Linked DNA regions of Homo sapiens: region 2 is linked to region 1. The links are contacts of gene promoters, found by promoter capture Hi-C in human tissues and cell types (Jung and others, 2019). All regions are on one chromosome and are shown on one strand. The core of a region is centred on a gene start or on the middle of the fragment in contact, and the rest is flanking DNA. Distances in the headings are between cores, read along the strand shown. Region 1 holds the start of TEDDM1 (transmembrane epididymal protein 1). Region 2 has its middle 23 kb from the start of GLUL.

Region 1 (4,783 bases), core at 2,205-4,704:
AAGAAAAGTAATTGAAAAAAGGCTAGGAACCAAGAGTAAAGGGGAAATGGCAAACTTTAGAAGCCTTGGTCAAAAACAAGTCTTATCCCCAGCTCTTGCTTTGGATCTGAGCCCAGAAATGTAAGACCCAGCCAGAAGTTGAGAGTCTGCCAGATTCTCACCCCCCGGGGGAGATGGGGGTCAGGGTAGGGGACAGAAAGTGTTGCATAAACCCACTCCTAAGGGAGGTCTAGGGTGTTTACACTGTGCTGTTTGCTTTACCTGGGCTTTCTGGCTTGTTTTCTTTTCTTTCTTTCTTTCTTTCTTTCTTTCTTTCTTTCTTTCTTTCTTTCTTTCTTTCTTTCCTTCCTTCTTTTCTTTTTTCTTTTTTTTTTAAGACATAGTCTCACTCTGTCACCCAGGCTAGGGTGCAGTAGTGCAATCTCAGCTCACTGCAACCTCCGCCTCCCAGGTTCAAGTGATTCTCCTGCCTTAGCCTCCCAAGTATCTGGGATTATAGGTGTGGGCCACCACACCTAGCTAATTTTTGTATATTTAGTAGAGACAGGGTTTCACCATGTTGACCAAGCTGGTCTCGAACTCCTGACCTCAAGGGATCCGCCCGCCTTGGCCTCGCAAAGTGCTGGGATTATAGGCGTGAGCCACAGTGCCCAGCCGTCTTTCTTCTTTCTTTCACAATTTCATTTTTTTCATTTTGAGATAACTTGTTTCTCCATTGCCATTAGCAAAGTCACTGTGGCCCAGAGGACACAGTCACACTTGCGTCAGACACACCTGCACTTAAATTCCTGTGTTGCCTCATACCAACTGTGAGACTTGGGCAAGTCAACCTGCTGGAGTCTCAGTTTTCTAGAGACTCCTTATAGAAACATTTGTGAGGATTAAAAACAATAACAGAGTCAACTTCAGAAACAAGTTACTGGATTTTATTATACCCCAAAACAAGGAAGAGAGTGGGTGCATTACTAAGGCAGTGACTCAGTGTTCAGGACTGTTGTTGTCACCCAGAGAGATTCACAAAACCTCCAACCTGTCCAGCAATACATTTAGAAGAAACAGGATTAGGGAAGACTCTGGAAGCAAAGAAGGCTTTATTAAACATAACCATGATCCATAGCTGGAGTATACATAGGAAATTTGGTAACTTGGATAAGGCAAAGTCTTTTCCCTTTAGGAGCCTGTACTTTAGTGGGTGAGGAAGAACCTTCTGAAAGAAAATGATTTCAGCAGCAGTATAAAAGAAAGTGGGTCACCTGTATGAGCAAACTAACAAAGCAGATTTAATGTAAGTGCCCAAGAGTTCCAAAACAAGGGAATCAGTAAGAGTTCTGGAGAAGGCCACCTTGGGGATACTTGGTGCGGTGTGGGGGTGGATGTAGGTTTATTCTGGGAATCGAATAACATGGTAAATATGTGACTGTAGGATGACTGGCTGTGATTTGCAAGGAAAAGAAATTTGCAAAGACCCAAGAATGGTATCTGCTAAATTGCATGTGCAAGGGTGGTCATGGTGAAAAGGAAAGTTTGGGCTAGAATAAGAGTAATAAAATGAGAAGTCAGGGAAGTACCAAGCATTTGAATGCTATAAAAATGCTATAGCAGTTGAATTCTATACAAATTTAAATTATGGAAATTTGAAATGTTATTAAGTATTTAAAAAGTCTCACTTTATATGTAAAGTTTGAAATGAAGCCAATTCTTGAAAGCTGCGGAGAGAGAAGGAGGCAAAGCGAGCATAATTTCAGCCTGTATGAATTAATTATAAATTCTATCATGCTATTTCCACATGGTGGCACCACTTTGGTGAGCACGTAAAGTACCCACTTTTCTTTATCAAGATGAGATTTGAATGGGTCCAGTTTTGAGTTGTGAGAAGTCTTTATTCCCTCAGGTAAAAGGCAATCCCTTGTGCCTGATGACGCTAATGACAGCATAACTGCTAGACTCTGTTCTCCTCCCTTCACAGCTCTTCCTTTTGTTGCATTCTCTTCCCCCAGTGGCTTTTCTTGCACACTAAGAAGAAGTGTTCTCCTCGTCCTTTTCCCTCCCTCCCGCAAATCCCATCAGCGTCTCTTTCTCAATCCCTCTCCCCTTATCTTCTCAGTAATTAGAGGCTCAGGGACAGAAAATGCACCAGCACGGGCATGGTGGCAGGCTCCTGTAATTGCAGCTACTCGGGAGGCTGAGGCAGGAGAATCGCTTGAACTCGGGAGGCGGAGGTTGCACTGAGCTGAGATTGTGCCATTGCACTCCAGGCTGGGCAACAGAGCGAGACTCTGTCTCAAAAAAAAAAAAAAAGAAAAGAGAAGAAAAGAAAATGAACCAGCAGACGGGACCAACTGCTAGCCTTCAAGGCCATTACCTTTACCAAGGAGGGTACCATGCTCGTGGCTGAGGAGCCAACAGGAGGAAGATGAGGTGGACGATGTGCCAGCCACTGTAGGCCCTGTCTCAGGGGGAGCTCTTTGGAAGGAGGAGAGCCTGGTCCTCTTTCTCTGACTGCTCCACTTCCTGTAGCAACTTGTAGAGGGGTCCTGGAGTGCTTGCATAATATGGAGCTTCTTTGGGCCCAGTCAGCTTCAAGCTGGGTCTGAAACAATGATACCAAAAGGAAGAGAAGCCATAGATTCCCAACAGGAATGAGGCATTGATCATCACATGCCAGCAGAAGAAGGTGGTGACAAACATGATGTCACTGATGTCATCGTCCTGCCATGGGTAGCCAGAGACGGGTCTGTATAGAATAAAGCCTGCCTGCATCAGCCAGGAGCCCATCATCAGAATCAGAAAGGTCTCCATCAGCTGGAGATGACACATGTTGGGAGCCCACAGCTCTGCAGTCAACACCAGCAACAGCAGGAACACCACCAAGATGAGCAGAGAATAAACGTGCAGCTCCACCCCTTCTGAATCTTTAACATGTGACACCATCAGCAGCAGGAGCTCGTAGATGATCAGGACCAGGGTACCTTTTTCTAGGCCCACACACCTCTGAGGCAGCACATTCTTGCTCATGAAGTCCACACAGCCATTAAGAGTGAGGAGGATGAACATGGTGAGGTGCTGCCACTCTTTGGGGTACATGAACCTTGATGGCACTTGCTTCCTCATGAGCACCATCCCGCCATCAAGACAGAGAACCACATAAAATGTTAAGAGGGAGCCAGTCACTATCTTTAGTAATCCTCCATAGGCTATTTTCCACAGCCTGGCACATCTTTGCTTATTCCTGGGAGAGCACAAAGGATACAGGAGACAACCTTTGAGTATCATGCCCTTGGAGACCACTGTGGCCTGATATAGTCCATAAGAGAAAAGAAATAGCCCCAGTTAAAAATGGCCAATGGACTTTCCCATGGAATACAGGCCTGTCCGACTGAAGCGTGAAGAGCAATACTCAGGACCTCTCTGCTCTCCTCTCCCTCACAGGCCTCTCGAGTTCTGGGCCTATATATACAGAGCTAAGTTCTACCTACTTTTATCATCTCCTTCTGCCCACTGCTCTCTCACAGACTGGAAAGTTCTGGACAGGAGCCTAGGTTTTTAGTGAGGTGGGTCTCATTGTTCCATTTCATTCCAGTACACTGGGAACTAATTGAGTTCTGCCAAAGTAGAAACATAAATATTTTTTAGTATGCACCTGTGGGAATTTGTGCTCTCAGGAGCTCTGCTTTTGGACCCTTGAGGACCTTCTGGTTACACTTGTCCCTCTCTCTCATGGCTTGCTTCCTTCTGCCCCTGTTCAATGCTCGGAGTAGAAAAAGAGAGGTGCCTGAGCACGGAGATTATCCAGAGAAGACCCGGGTTACTCACAAACCTTAATGCATCCTTTAAGACTCCTTACTCGGACAGGCATGGTGGCTCAAGCCTGTAATCCCAGCACTTTGGGAGGCCAAGGCAGATCTCGAGGTCAGGAGTTCGAGATCAGCCTGGCCAACATGGTGAAATCCCATCTCCACTAAAAATACAAAAACTAGCTGGGCATGGTAAAGAGTGCCTGTAATCCCAGCCACTTGGAAGGCTGAGGCAGGAGAATTACTTGAACCCGGGAGGCGGATGTTGCAGTGGGCCAGGATCATCTCACTACACTCCAGCCTGGGTGACAGAGCGAGACTGTCTCAAAAAAAAAAAAGACTCCTTACTCATATGTTGGGTCATATACTGAGAGCAAATACATTCTTCCTAGACATAAAAGTTTATAAACGTTTGGATGTGTGCTCATATATATAGATACTGAGCTCTTGTCCTCTTCATTCTTCTGTAACAGTTTTTGGGGATCACAAAGAAAGCAGCTCAATTGCCCCAAATTATCTTTCCAAAGAACAGTAGATGAATGTAAAATGTCACCTTTTGAGATCAATTTTGGAATGTTAAGGTATAATTTTTTATTAAAATGCAGATATGTTGAGATAAGTAGATCCAACAAACTGCTTATATTTTAATGTGAATTAGGTCCTCAACTTTATTCTCTCTTTAATTATCATTTACTATGTGTCTAACACATATAGGCAGAAAGAGTTCTAAGCACTAGGTAGCAGCCAGCTGCATATGAGGGGTTGCATCCAAGGCAAGAGTCTTCATTTATTTATTTTTATTTCTATTTTTATTTTTATTTTTAGACAGTGTCTCGCTTTGTTGCCCAGGTTGCAGTGCAGTGGCTTGATGACGGCTCACTGCAGCCTCAACCTCCTGAGCTCAATCAATCCTCCTGCCTCAGCTGCTGAGTAGCTGGGACAACAGACATGAGCCACCACATCCAGCTATTTTTTGTAGAGATGAGGTC
Region 2 (4,881 bases), core at 476-2,975, 33 kb before region 1:
AGATGAGAGAATGGAGTTTGAACTTCATTACAACAATGGCGGAGAGCCATTAGAAAGCTTGAGGAGGCTGGGCACAGTGGCTCACACCTGTTATCCCAGCACTTTGGGAGCCCAAGGCGGGTGGATTACTTGAGGCCAGGAGTTCAAGACCAGCCTGAATCAACATGGCGAAACTTCATCTTTACTTAAAATACAAAAATTAGCCAGGAGTAGTGGTGCATGCCTGTAATCTCAGCTACTCGGGAGGCTGAGGCACGAGAATCGCTTCAACCTGGGAGGCAGAGGTTGCAGTGAGCCAAGATCACACCACTGAGCTCCAGCCTGGGCAACAGAGCAAGACTCTGTCTCAAAAAAAAAAAAAAATTTTGAGGAAAGATGGGACATAATCTGATTTAGGTTTCTAAAAGATTACTCTGGTTGCTGTTGGGGAATTAATTAAAGATTACAGTTGAAGAAGAAAGACCATTTATGAGGTATAATATAATTACGACTGAGAGATGATGGTGACTTGGACTAGAAATTGATGGTAGAGAGGATAAAAATGGAAGGATTCAAAATATAATTGTCAATAAAATGTGCACTATTTGCTGATGGACAAGATGGGGAGAAAGCATGCCATAAGTGGAAAGGAGAAATCAAGGTTCATCACCAGGTGTAGGGTAACAATGGAAGGTGCCAGAGAGATAAGGAAGAAGAGTCTTAGAAAGAGGGTCTGAGGCCAAGTGTGGTGGCTGACACCTGTAATCCCAAGACTGTGGGAGGCTGAGGCTGGAGGATTGCTTGAGTCTAGGAGTTTGAGATCAGCCTGGCCACATAGTGAGACTCTGTTGCCACAAAAGTTTAAAAATTGGCAGGGCATGGTGATACATGCCTGTGGTCCCAGCTACTCAAGAGGTTGAGGTAAGAGAATTGCTTGAGCCCAGGAGGTCAAGGCTGGCGTGAGGCATGATTGCATCACTGCATGTACTCCAGCCTGGGTGACAGAGCAAGACCTCGCCTCAAAAAGAAAGAAAGAGAGAGAGAGAGAAAGGGAGGAAGGGAGGGAGGGAGGAAGGAAGAAAGTAATAAAGGAAGGAAGGAAGGAAGGAAGGTAAGGGCTCTGAAATCAGTAGTTCCATATTGGACATATTCAAGTTTTAGATTCTTATTAGAAATCCATTCAATGGTGTGGTGTCATAAAAAATGAAAAAAGGGAGAAATCCAAGTGGGGTTGTCAAGTAGGTAGTGGGATGTACAAGTCAGAGCCCAAGAGAGAGATATGGACTGAAACTAAAGATTGGGACATGTAAACGGAATGAGATTACTTATGGAGAGAAGTACATTAAAAACAGTCTAGAACAGAGCTCTGGAAAATCTCAAAAATTTAGAGGTTGGAGCCAGTCAAAGGAGGAGAAGCCAGGTAAAGAGATTGAAAAGGAAAGGCCAGATGTGGTGTGGAGGATGAGGAAGAGCCAAGAACCCATGGAGATATCTGGGAAGCCAAGAGCTCTGGACTCATACGTCCAGCTGGCCGTGAAGGAAAGCCTTGTCTGTTAAGACAATGAGATGGGGGGAATGTGCAGAGAATAAGTTAGGACTTTAAACAAAGCCACAAACCAGGGGCCCCAGGGAGCACAGTTAGAAAGGTGTGATATGAGGAAGAGAAGAGTACATTGGTCCGCATTAAGGACTGTGTGGAGCAGTGTAGGTGTGAAGACCCTGTGATAAAATTTGAGGTTTGAAGCTCTGCTGAATTCAGAAAAACAGGGAAGGCCAGGTGTGGTGGCTCATGCCTGTAATCCCAGCACTTTGGGAGGCCGAGGCAGGTGGATCACAAGGTCAGGAGTTTGAGACCAGTCCGTCCAGTATGGTGAAACCCCGTCTCTACTAAAAAATACAAAATTAGCTGGGCATGGTGGTGCGCACATGTAGTCCCAGCTACTTGGGAGGCTGAGGCAGGAGAATCGTTTGAACCTGGGAGGCAGAGGTTGCAGTAAGTCAAGATCATGCCATTGCACTCCAGCCTGGGTGACAAAGCGAGACTCCATCTCAAAAACAAAAAAAAAAACCAAACAAAACAGAAAAACAGGGAAGGGGGCTTGATGGAATTGGTCTTGGGTAATCAGCTCAAAGTATGGTCCAGAATAGTCTTAATGTACGGAGGAGGGGACTAGGCTTTTAGCAACAAGCTCTCATCTGCAGTTTAGAGTATTATAATTCCCACTCTACAAGTATAAAAAAATTAATCTGGATGAATTTAAGTAAATCAGTGCCAGATGGAGAGTGACCAAAAGTCCTTGGAGTCCAAAATCAAGGTTTTGCTCAGCACTCTAAAGCCGGCTGTTAGGTATTTCCTGAACTGAACTAATAAGAACCATTTGAGATGGTTCATAAAAATACATACTCCCTCTCTCCCTCCTCTGGAGTTAGGTCTAGAGTGATTTTTAAAGTTTACAATTATCTCATACTGCAGGTATAGAAAGGAAATGGTGCTAAGAACACAGAAGTCTTTGGCTTGGGTAGTTTGGAATTTCAGAGGACTGACTCTTCTATGGTTGTGATGTTTGAGGAAAAGGTGGAAGGAAGGTGAAAGTTTATTTCTAGCTTAGTCTAGTGTCTCCCTGACAGTTAAAAACAAATAGCATGCAAATAAGTGCTTTGCTTTTTGAAAAGCAAAACATATGTGGCCAAAGAATATACTCGCTGCATACTAATTGCCACTTTCATATTGAGAAAGCATTTTAGAGACTTCAGGGACACCACCCTTAAATGCTGTGTTCCTTTCTTTACTCGAATCTCCCCTCTACCTGCCTTATAGGAATATCCTGAAGCTGCGACAGGTTTGCTATCCCGTAGTACTTAGATGGAGGGAGCCCAGTGAACAGTGAGAATCATAGGGGAAAATTCAAGCTGTTTGTGTTCCCTCCCATCTGTTTATTTTATCTCCCACTGCAGTACTTTAAAAATATATTAGAGCCATCTTTGTTACGCTTAAGTCTTTTCAGATCACAAAGGAAAGCGAAAAAGGATATGACATATTTCCTTCAGGATCTTCTCTTGTTCTCTCCCTTCTCTATCCCAGCAGAAAGTCACCTCCCAGTCAGTGTTCATTAAAAACTGGACGGCTCTGCTTTGCAAGGGAGAAGACAGAACACGGAGGCACCAAGAAGTCAAACTTCCCTGAGTTATAAATGTGCCTTTTCTGTGACATGAAAGCAAAGGACCACGCACCAAGAATACAGTTTCTTTTTTGTTGTTCTTCTTCTTTTTGAGTCACAGTGTCACTCTTGCTTAGGCTGAAGTGACATGATCATAGCTCACTACAGCCCAAACTCCTGAGCTCAAGTGATTCTCCCACCCCAGCCTCCTGAGTAGCTGGGATGACAAACGTGCACCACCATACCTGGCTATTTATTTATTTATTTATTTATTTATTTATTAGACATGGGGTCTTTCTATGTTGCCCAGGCTAGTCTCAAACTCCTGGGCTCAAGGGATCCTCCCACTTCAGCCTCCCAAAGTGCTGAAATTACGGGCACGAGTCATGTTGTCTGGCAGAAGAATATAGTTTCTAAAATAAAACGGTGCCATGTCACAAAAAATTAAAACAGAAAGAGATCCGTAACTCTTGCAACTAAAATAAACACACGCTGTTGTCGCATTCATACAATGGTATACATAGGGAAGTTCTCACTGCCATTTTAAGGATGAGAAAAAAAGACTCTGAGTCCTAGCAAACTGCAGGGCTACACTACCTGGGATCAGATCCTTACTGCTTCTTACCAGTGTTTGGTCATTGGCAAGTCATTTAACCTTTAAGTACCTCAATTTTCTTCTCTATAAAATGAGGATAGTAAGGCCAAGCACAGTGGCTCATGCCTGTAATCCCAGCCCTTTGGGAGACTGAGGCAGGCAGATCACTTGAGGTCAGGAGTTCGCGACCAGCCTGGCCAATATGGTGAAACCCCATCTCTACCAAAAATACAAAAATTAGCCAGTTGTGGTGGCAGGTACCTATAATCTCAGATACTCAGGAGGCTGAAGCAAGAGAATCACTTGAACCTGGGAGGCAGAAGTTGCAGTGAACAGAGATGGTGCCACTGCACTCAAGGGCAATAGAGTGGGACTCAGTCTCAAACACACACACACACACACACACACACACACACACACACACATAATAATAATAAAATGGGGATAGTAATAGTAACACTACCTCATAGAGTTATTGTTCAATTAAATGAGTCAACACAACTTAGCATGCAACAACTACAATGCAGGGAAAAAAAACAACAGACCTTTTTTTTGGGTGAGGGGCAGGGGACAGGATCTCATTCCAATTGCCCAGGCTGGAGTGCAGTGGCACAATTTTGGCTCACTGTAGCTTCAACCTCCTGGGCTCAGGTGATTGTCCCACCTCAGCCTCCCCAGTAGCTAGGACCACAGGCTCATGCCACCACGCCTGGCTAATTTTTGTACCCGCTTCAGCCTCCTAAAGTGCTGGGATTACAAGCGTGAAACACCATGCTCGGCCAACAATAGACTTTTCAGATAAAGTCTTTTATCATATAGAATTTTGTAGAGCTTATAATTTTTTAAAGCACAAGCTCAAAAGATAGAGGAATACAAGCAAATAGCTTAGATCCCTAAGAATTCATCCACTCCTTCAACAACATTTACTGATTATCTTCTAGGAACTTGGCTAGACACCAGAAGCAGATGCCAGTAACAGGTTAGAGGGTTCTGAATTTGCACCCACACCATGTCACTTTATTTCATTTGCTTTAATCAAATTAAATCTGAAGCCAATAATGGTGGTGCTGAGACATGGCCTGGTGGCTTTAGTAATACCATTAGAATCCCTACTCAGCCATTCCAAATAGATTTACAAACTAAGTAAAA

What was found. The method cuts DNA at HindIII sites, captures the fragments that hold promoters and counts their contacts. A contact is called where the count stands out against the background at its distance.
Region 2: a fragment that was not itself captured here is called in contact with the fragment with the promoter of TEDDM1 in region 1 in 1 of the 25 tissues and cell types used here (hippocampus).

Annotation. Positions count from the first base shown.
Region 1 is chr1:182,397,213-182,401,995 of GRCh38, forward strand. It overlaps TEDDM1 (transmembrane epididymal protein 1), which reads right to left and starts at 3,455. Exons shown (of 1, transcript NM_172000.4): 1 at 905-3,455. The coding sequence starts at 3,273. The coding sequence ends at 2,452. The HindIII fragment of the contact is 14,950 bases long and covers 1-4,783 here.
Region 2 is chr1:182,365,859-182,370,739 of GRCh38, forward strand. No RefSeq gene overlaps it. Among named protein-coding and RNA genes, the nearest start is that of GLUL, 23 kb to the right of the region's middle. The HindIII fragment of the contact is 9,592 bases long and covers 1-4,881 here.